Linked DNA regions of Homo sapiens: all the other regions are linked to region 3. Evidence: promoter capture Hi-C in 16 types of primary human blood cells and fetal thymus (Javierre and others, 2016). All regions are on one chromosome and are shown on one strand. Each heading gives the region's core, a stretch centred on a gene start or on the middle of the fragment in contact. The rest is flanking DNA. Distances are from core to core; before and after follow the strand shown. Region 1 holds the start of PPIG (peptidylprolyl isomerase G). Region 2 holds the start of SPOPL (speckle type BTB/POZ protein like). Region 3 holds the start of NMI (N-myc and STAT interactor).

Region 1 (3,048 bases), core at 211-2,710, about 18 Mb before region 3:
AATATCAGGCCCCCCTAATTTCTAAAACATCTAATTGTTCTTTGGACAACTATGTTAGTACCAAACTATAAAAGCAAATACTTTTGTATTTGTGTTCACTACTGCAAAATGTTGGTTACACACAGAAAGGGCTATCGTGGAAAGAAATTAAAATCAATGCACAAAATGGTGCTTTTATAGCATTTCCAAAACGATTGTGCATACTCCTTGCCAGCACATCTAGACTTTGCTCCTTAAGACTAAACATGAGCTGGCCGTGCGCGGTGGCTCTCGCCTGTAATCCCAGCACTTTGGGAGGCCGAGGTGGGCGGATCACGAGGTCAGGAGATCGACCATCCTGGCTAACACGGTGAAAACCCGTCTCTACTAAAAACACAAAAAATTAGCCGGGCATGGTGGCACGTGCCTGTAGTCCCAGCTACTTGGGAGGCTGAGGCAGAAGAATCACTTGAACCCAGGAGGCGGAGGTTGCAGTGAGCCAAGATCGCGCCACTGCATTCCAGCCTAGGCGACAGAGCGAGACTCCGTCTCAAAAAAAAAGACTAACCAAGAACCAAATTAGCATACTTCCCCTTCAGGCATACTGAGCCCCGAAATCATCATCTTCCTCCTAAAGAGTAATTATCTCCTCCTAAAAGGCCTGCGCAGCTCACAGCTCCTCCGAAACACGGGGGAACTTCGCGAGAGCTCAAGACCCTGGACTTGAGTTTTAGAAAAATGCTTAACAAAGTGGCCTCTGCCACTTAACTGCACGACAGCCACTGTGCTGTGAGAGGAAAAGGTCGAAAGAGGAGGAAAGCTAGTCTTCAATTTTAATCCCTGTGATTCAGGCTCTTCGCCCGTCACTCTCCAACCCTAGCCTGACAGGACGTCAGGCTGTCTCCCCCTTCCCCACCAGTCCCGCCACCTACCCCGCAACAGTGCTGAGTCTTAGGATTTTGAAGCTTTAAAAATCAACCCGGCTCCCTAGAGTTCAGGCCGCAGTCGCTGCCGCCATGTTACAGCTTGTGCGGCAAAATGCGTCAGTGAGGGAGGTGTGCGCCTGAGTGGGGAGGGCGGGGGCTGGCAGAGGAAGGACCGTCCCCAGGCCCCGGGGCTCGACTGCAAGCCTTCTCCTTCTGCAACAGCGGCAAAGGCACTGCTGCGGTCCTCAGGGACTTCCTCTGGGCCCAAGCAGCCCCGATACCTCGAGGGAAAGACGGTAAACCCAACCCGGTCAGCCGCGCCGGCTCCGCCCCTCTTCCCAGGCCCTTCCCGCTTTCGTACGCAGGGACTGCTGAAATGACGCCGCCAGAACAACTTGAGCCTCATACCACTTACCTGCACCGGTAGAGTTTTCCTCTTCTCTGGGTCCGGTCCTTTGAAGCGCTTCAAATCTACCGCCGCCAGAAAAGGCGCTAAAGCCCGCTAACCGCCTCCCTCCCCCACAACTCAGTCCTGGCATGGAGAGACAGCGTCGCACCGGAAGCGCGTCAGGAGTGGGTTGTCAGCATCGGCCAGCGTTCACCTGCTTGCGTCACCACGCCCTCCTAGGACTTCTAGGATTTTGGTGCCTTTTAAATTCCTAGTTTATAGGTGGCCTAATGCTTTGTGGATGCGTTGACTGGGAACGCTTGTAACCGTTAAAATGCCATATCCTTTGTGAAGTAAAGTGCCTCATTTAATAAACATTTATTGATCTTACGCTAGGTTATCAGAAAGGAAGGCCTACCTTCATGGAGCTTCCAGTTAAGCTTCCACTTAACGCTAGGATATAAGTTCTAAAAACGCAGTAATGAGCAAAGTGTTATTTGAGGAAAGAGGAAGAAATTACAAAGAGCTTTGATGTTCTTTGTTGTTTTACAGATAAAGAAATTGAGGCTCAGGGAAGATAAACGCCTCCTCCTCAAACACACTGTTCTTGAATGCCAAAGCAAGTCTTTTGATGCCAAATCTAGTGCCTTCTAGAGAAAATATGGCATATATTATTTAATTATTTTAAGGGGCAAGGGTCCCCGGATTATGTTAGAAATAAATAACCATTGCTGTTTGGGCGGGGGGGTGGGGGGGGATGGGCAGTGATTCTGGTAGGGATGTGGGGTGTGTTTTAAAGGAACTAGCTAACTAGAGGACTTAAATTGTTCTGTCGTTTAAAGGCAACGTAAATTATGATCATTTAAATTTTTCACTCACTTGCATCAGGTAAATTAATTATCAACAACAGTTAGGCATGTGGTGGTGCTTCTAAGGGGCGTGACCAGTTTTACACAGCAGTAAAACAGAGGACATTTCTGCCTCTCCACCCCCACCTCTTTTAAGTCATTGCCCTTTATTGCAGGAGAGCAGCAGCATATTCATCTTTAGATAGTTCAGAGATTAAACGGATTTACACTTCGCTGTGTGTGGAGGGGACAATTCTGCAATACCTTAAAACAGGGGTCCCCAACCCCTGGGCCACAGACTGGCCTGGCTAATTTTTTGTATTTTTAGTAGAGACAGGGTTTCTCCATGTAGGTCAGGCTGGTCTCAAACTCCCAACCTCAGGTGATCCGTCCTCCTTGGCCTCCCAAAGTGCCGGGATTACAGGTGTGAGCCACCACGCCCGGCCAACGCTTTTCGAAAGAAGACATACTTGCAGCCAACAATCATAATGAAAAAGCTCAACACCACCAATCATCAGAAAAATGCAAATCAAAACCGCAGTGAGATACTATCTCATACCAGTCAGAATGGCTATTATTAAAAAGTCAAAAAATAACAGGTGCTGGTGAGGTTGTGGAGAAAAAGGAACATTTTACAGTGCTGGTGGGAGTTTAAATGAATTCAACTATTGTGGAAGACAGCGTGGCGATTCCTCAAAGACCTAGAGGCAGAAATACCATTTGACCCAGCAATCACATTACTGGGTATATACCCAAAGGAATATAAGTTGTTCTGTTATAAAGACATACACATATGTATGTTCATTGCCACACTATTCACAATAGCGAAGACATGGAGTCAACCTAAATGTCCATCAATGGTAGACTTGATAAAGAAAATGTGGTACATATACTCCATGGAATACTA
Region 2 (2,976 bases), core at 269-2,768, about 13 Mb after region 3:
TTAAGTAACTTCCCCAAAGCCAAAGCTGGTAGATGGCAGAGCAAGGGTTTACACCCTGGCAACTATATACTAGTCTGAGCTCTAGAGAAGAGTTCTTAACCACTAGGCAACATTTCTCACAAGAATGATGAAATGGTAATTTGAAATATTCCACCAATCTCATCGTGGCAGGAGAGATGTAATTTTTCAAGGTATGAACCTTTTACCTCTGTCAGTTTCTAGTCCAAGAAACAGTGGATTCAATTGCAAGTGGGAAAGTGAGTACCACAATGGGTCAAACTAGGCCCAAGATTATTCAAAAATAGACAAAGCATCAGAAGCCTGGAAAGAATCACTGAATGACAGAGTTCAGTCAGGAAAGAGACAAGCGAAAGTTAGGATAAGCAGATGGTGAATCTTATTTCTACTGGGTTGTGTGACTGCTTTGAGAGAGAAAATGCTACCTTCCCTTTTCTTTTATGTTGAATCAATATACAAATACATTGACTCAAAAAGAATTAGGAAAAAGGAGAGCAGCAGGAATACAAGTGGGCTCTTTGAAGACTTGGACCCCGAACCGCGCGGTTAGCTTGATGTACTCTGGTATAAGTGAGCAAAAATGTATTAGAAAGCAGGTTAAAGAGAGGTTAAAGGCATGACCACCGGACTGGAGGTAGTGAGCGGTCTGCGAAGCTGAGAACTCTGCCTAAAATGGGCTAACAGGGACGAGAGTTTCAAGTGTCTGTATTTGGGATGAGGAGGTATGAAAGTGGACGCTGCGCGGTGGCAGAGCATGCAGTTTCTGCCTTTGGGCAGCACTCAGGTAAAAAGGGGCAGGTGTGGAGGTATACAGGTATAGAGGAGGAGAGAAGCCAGAGGAAAAGAAGGGGCGAGGCCCGGGGGTAAAACTAAAGGGGATCCTGGAAGGTGGAGGCTGGGAAATCAAGGAGGGATTGGGGGCAACCCCGGGGAAAGTGGTGCCGCCGCGCGAGGGAAGGGCGGTCCGGGGGCGTGGGAGGTAGTCCCCAGAGCAGGCCGGAGCTCGCCGCCCGAGCAGGGGTCCGGGACCCAGAGAGCAGAGGGCGCAGTGAGGCGCGAGCAGGAGGCCGCCGGTCTACGGAGAGCCGGGGGAGGGGAGCAAGCGCCTGGGGCTGCCGCGGGGACTGGGGGGAGGGGAAGGGGCGCCTACCTGGACGTGCTGGGCGGCAGCGGTCAGTCCTGGTGGAGACTCCTCTCCCGCTGAGGCGGTGGCCGTGTCCGCCCTGGGAGCCCGAGGCTGCGGTGGTGGCAGCAGGGGTGATGGCGGCAAGTCCCTGTGGCGGCCGCCTCCGCCGAACCGCATCCCTCCTCCCCGACCCGCCCTCCTTCCCTATCTCCCGCTCCTAAACTTCTTCCCCGGGATAAACAAACCCGCCGCCAGGGGCGGCCACCTCCGCCACTCCCGCCCCCGCGCAGCCCCCACCCCCCCGCCGCGGGCCCGTCTGGGCTCCGGCTTCCGAGTTACGACTCCAGCCCCGGCTCCAGCCCGCGAGGGCGCGTGCGCGCGGCGGCGGCGGCGGCGGCTCCTGGGCCCTTGCTCCCTCCTACAGCGCCGGGCACTTCCGGGCGGGCCCGGATTTGCCGCCGCGCTTGGGAAGCCGCCACCGCCGCCGCTGCTGCATGGCACTAGGCTCCCGGCGGGGCAGGTTCCGCAGCCGGCACCGCTCTGGCTAGGCGCACGGAGGCGCCTTGCTTAGTCTGACCCTTATTTGGCCAGGCGTAAAACTTGTCCTGCCTAAAAGCCTACTGAGACCTCCTAACTGGTCTAATCCGCGGGAGACGCCAAAGGCGGCGGCCGTTTGTGCGCACAGGATTTTTCTTGGAGCTGTAGCAGTCTAGGAAGCCAGGGTGGAACTTTTGCTAAGCTCCCGTTGTAAGCCCAGAGCTGTAATAACTGCTGAGACACAACCAGCAGTATACAGGCTCCAGTTGGAAATCGAGAACTTTCCAGGTAGATGAAGTGCCCCATGGAGCAGTTTTCAGGTGGAGGGGATGAGGCTCAGCTGGAAGTCTCAGGCCAGAAGGAGAGGCTGCCGAGGGGCGGCCAGGGATGCCTAGGAAGTGAGCGCAGAAGACCAGGCGGCCTCCTGGGACCGCACGGTGGGAAATAAAGCTGCACCTGCACAAATGTGTGAAGAGAGGATGGGATTGCCTTGTCTCTTCGGACATTTAGTTTAAAAAGGGGGTGACAACTGAACTTTTTATTCCCCACGGCCATGGGACAAAGATACTTAATCGAGCTACCAGGAGTAAACTTCTTTAAAGAAGTTTGGGGGACCAACAATCCCGGCTTTGCCAGAACAGACATGAACGTCATTCAAGGATCCCAACTCTTTTTGCTTTAACTGTGCATACGTCAGCAATTTTTGTTTTGTTTTGTTTTTGACAGGGCTGTCACCCAGGCTGGAGTGCAGTGGTGCCATCACAGCTCACTGCAGCCTCGACCTCCTAGGCTAAAGTGATCCTCCCAACTCAGCCTCCCGTAGCTGGGACTACAGGAATGTGCCACGCCCAGGTAATCTTAATTTTTTGTGGAGACGAGGTCTTGCTATGTGGCCCAAGCAGATCTCGAACTCCTGAGCTCAAGGGATCCTCCCACCTTGGTCTCCCAAAGTGCTGGGATTTGCAGGCGTGAACCACCACACCTGGCCATAAACCAACTTCTCATTGCTTACCTGGCTTTCCAAGAAAAGAGAGAGGGCAGAGGGAAAATATTTATTATTTTGCTATGTACTGAGTATTCTAAGCATGGACTTGTATCGTCTCTGTTCTCTCAACAACCTCTCTAAAACTTCAACGTAGAAATTTCCATCTTAAAATTAAGCGACAAGAACTAGAAATGGCAAGTAATTCATCCAGAGGTTACTGGGATTTGAATACTGGACAGGCAGATCCCCCTCATTTCAAATTAATACTACATTAGCTGTCTTTTTTATTTCTTTTTTCTTTTTGTTTGTT
Region 3 (3,264 bases), core at 208-2,707:
CCCTCCACCTGTATCATTTGCCTTTTAAACAGAATCTGAGTCAATATATTAAGTTAGTCCTGTTCTGGCCATGGTCCTGTCCTTTAGTATCTTCTTGTAAAAAATAAAAATAAGAAGAAATGAGGTTCAACTAAATAACCTCGAGAGTTCATATTCCCTCTAAAATTTCAAGGTAAAACTAAAGTAATTCTTTCTCAAGTTGCAGCAGAAGGAGTTTTTGTATTTTCTAACTGGTCTGATAAGCACAAAGAAGTCGTTTTTTTTACTTAGAAATGCCATTTTACAGGAGGCTGAGGTGGTGGGATCACTTGGGCCAGAGCTCAAGATCAGCCTGGGAAACAGTTAGATACCTGCCCCCAGCACCCAAATTAAAAGTACAAAAAATCTGGGTGCGGTCGTGAATTCCTGTAATCCCAGCTACTTGGGAGTGGAGGTGGAAGGACTGCTTGAGCTCAGGAGTTGGAGACTGGGCAACAGAGCAAGACTCATCTCAAAAAAAAAAAAAAAAAAGAGAAATGTCACCACTTTAAACTGGTTCCCATCAACCTTTTTGATACAAAGAAATTTTACTTTTGTTAAACTATTTTAGACCACTGTATCAGTTATTATATGTGACTAGGTAGCATGATAACCTATAATTTATGCCTTGAAATAATTTTGACTCATTTTCTTCCCACATCTGTATTTATGAGCCGGGGCAGCTGTGGGGTGGTTCTTTGTGTGGGATTAAGAGACACTGCAGTTCTTGAAATAAACCAGATGTTTGAATTTTCAAAGGAAAAGTTCACACCTAGTGAAGTATTTATTTACAAGCTCCACAACAAAACAAGAGATTATAAGAAAACTTTCAAGGGACATGGGTCACAGAAACCAACAGGAACACCACAGCTTTCCCAACTTCATGGCCCCGGGGGATGTTACAAAAGACACAGAAACGCCGATCTTGTGCTGACTGTAAACATTTGTCAACTAGTGTTACAATGACTAAGAAATTACAAAAGAGTTACAATCTGATGAAGAGCGATTCCTGCTTTGACTTTATTTGGTTTCTATCCACTTTTCCAACATACCTTATAAAATACATGCAAAAAACTGGTTTTAGAAAGCGTTCCCTAAAATTAGTGTGTACGGAAACTTCAGGTATACTTCTGCTTTCCTCCGCAAAACCACCCCTTTTTAAAAATCGAAAGTGAAATTAGTTTTTTTTTCTGTTAGTGACTAATCATTGGAGACAACCATGTTTAGTATTTGAGCATTGGTTAAATGCTAAAGAAAAATCGCCGTTAAAGCAGTTTTCTTTTTCACTGTCTTTTTCTTTTCGCGGGGAACCCAGCTGTTCCTGCGAGGGCCACCTCCTCAGGAAGACCCCGCAGCTCTCCCGCGGCGCTTCTGCAGGAGGCAGCGACAGTTTCGAGAACCCGGGCCTTCCCCTCCCAGTGCCTCCCGGGGTTCCGGCGTTTCAGGCGCTGCTGTTTTCCGGGAAGGGCAGGCGCGCTGGGCCTTGGGGAGCTGCGCTCGGCGGGCGGACGCGGGTGAGTGGGGAGTCCCTTCCCCGGCTGCCACTCCCGCCGCTGGCAGTCCCGGGCTGGAGAGCCGGGGGTGGAAAGGGAGGTGGGAGCCCTCAGCGCCGACGGAAGTGGGACAGCGCCGGAGTTGAGACCCTGCTCCCCGGGAGCTGCCCGCAGCCGAGTCGCGGAGGCCACGCCGCCTTCGAGGGGGCGCACCTGCTCCTGGGCCCGCTGTGCAGTCTCTGGGCCGTCAGGGCTTCGAGCCTTGTCACTTGTTTGCTTTGCTTCATTGAGGAAATTGAAACATAAAGTTATTTGTGTTTCCTCGCTGTTTTCTCTCTTTTTTTTTTTTTTTTTTTTTTTTGAGACGGAGTCTCGCTCTGTCGCTCAGGCTGGAGTGCAGTGGCGCGATCTCGGCTCACTGCAAGCTCCGCCTCCCGGGTTCACGCCATTCTCCAGCCTCAGCCTCCCGAGTAGAGTAGCTGGGACTACAGGCGCCCGCCACCACGCCTGGCTAATTTTTTTTTTTGTATTTTTAGTAGAGACGGGGTTTCACCGTGTTAACCAGGATGGATACGATCTCCTGACCTCGTGATCCGCACGCCTCGGCCTCCCAAAGTGCTGGGATTACAGGCGTGAGCCACCGCGCCCGGCCCTCGCTGTTTTCTCCGAGTGTCTCTGGAGATAGTCCTTAGGAAAACGGATTTCTTAAGAAAACGATTCTTGGTAGGGGCAGTGTTGTGCAGTCATGGCTGGCGTGTCAGAATAGGCAAGGTTTTTCTTGAAGGAGACATCCGAAGGAGAATACTGTGTTTCCAGTCTGTACAACAGGCAGACGTTCTATTGCCTTTCTTTTTGCTGCCACGCATGCATATAGGAAGATTCGATTCTACACGGCCTGGCACCGCAGTTATATGATTGTATTACGGAAATACGGTGATGTTGATTTGTATCAGTTTTTTTAATTCGCTGCCATAACAAATTACATGGCTTTAGTGGCTTAAACACATAGGAACGCGCGCGCGCGCGCACACACACACACACACACACACTCACATACACAATTTACTATCTTAGGATTCTGTAGCAGTCCTACTGAGGTCTCACTGGGTTAAAATCAAAGTGTTGGCAGGGTTGCCTTCCTTTCTGGAAGCTCTTGGGGTGAATCCTCTTTCCATCTTCCGGAGGCCACCTACCTTATTTGGCTCAGCAGCCCTTCCTCCATCTTCAGGGCCAGCAACATTGCGCCTCTGAAAGTTCTTCCGGGGTCACATTTCACTCTTGACTCTTCTTCTGTCTTCCGCTTTCACTTTTAAGTAGCCTCATGATTACACTGGGCTCCCACAGATAATCCAGGATGCTCTCCATATTTAAAAGCAAGCTGATTAGCAACCTTAATTCAATCTGCAGCCTTAATTCTCCTTTGCAATATAAACTAACATAATCACAGATTCTTGGGATTAAGATGTGGACATCTTTGAGGGAGCCATTGTTTTGCCTACTACATGATTGCATAAAAGGAATGACCATACATCCCACTCATGCATAGAGCAAAAGTATCCAGATGCAAAAGATGCCAAAAGGGTTCTGGTGGTGTTAGATAGTAGACCATTTATGCTGAGAGCCTTTATTACAGGCTCTTGGAATATTGGCATTGTCACAATAATAAAAATAAAAAGCAATTAAATAACATTGCAGTTTCTGTCTTCTGAAATGTAATAAGAGGACTTCATATACATGTGATGTCCTGAGTACA

What was found. The method cuts DNA at HindIII sites, captures the fragments that hold promoters and counts their contacts. A CHiCAGO score of 5 or more calls a contact.
Region 1: the fragment with the promoter of PPIG here is called in contact with the fragment with the promoter of NMI in region 3 in 1 of 17 cell types (total CD4 T cells); the score reaches 7.2 in total CD4 T cells.
Region 2: the fragment with the promoter of SPOPL here is called in contact with the fragment with the promoter of NMI in region 3 in 1 of 17 cell types (total B cells); the score reaches 7.9 in total B cells.

What each region holds. Positions count from the first base shown.
Region 1 is chr2:169,582,763-169,585,810 of GRCh38, reverse strand. PPIG (peptidylprolyl isomerase G) reads right to left here and starts at 1,460. Exons shown (of 14, transcript NM_004792.3): 1 at 1,321-1,460. RefSeq lists an enhancer at 1,495-1,544. The HindIII fragment of the contact is 789 bases long and covers 947-1,735 here.
Region 2 is chr2:138,500,312-138,503,287 of GRCh38, reverse strand. It overlaps SPOPL (speckle type BTB/POZ protein like), which reads right to left and starts at 1,518. Exons shown (of 11, transcript NM_001001664.3): 1 at 1,169-1,518. SPOPL-DT (SPOPL divergent transcript) reads left to right here and starts at 1,593. Exons shown (of 2, transcript NR_187149.1): 1 at 1,593-1,969; 2 at 2,408-2,976. RefSeq lists silencers at 833-882, 1,083-1,622. The HindIII fragment of the contact is 5,215 bases long and covers 1-2,976 here.
Region 3 is chr2:151,287,861-151,291,124 of GRCh38, reverse strand. NMI (N-myc and STAT interactor) reads left to right here and starts at 1,457. Exons shown (of 8, transcript NM_004688.3): 1 at 1,457-1,532. RefSeq lists enhancers at 869-1,288, 1,349-1,428, 1,819-1,868, 1,889-1,938, 2,739-2,908 and a silencer at 1,489-1,688. The HindIII fragment of the contact is 4,870 bases long and covers 1-3,264 here.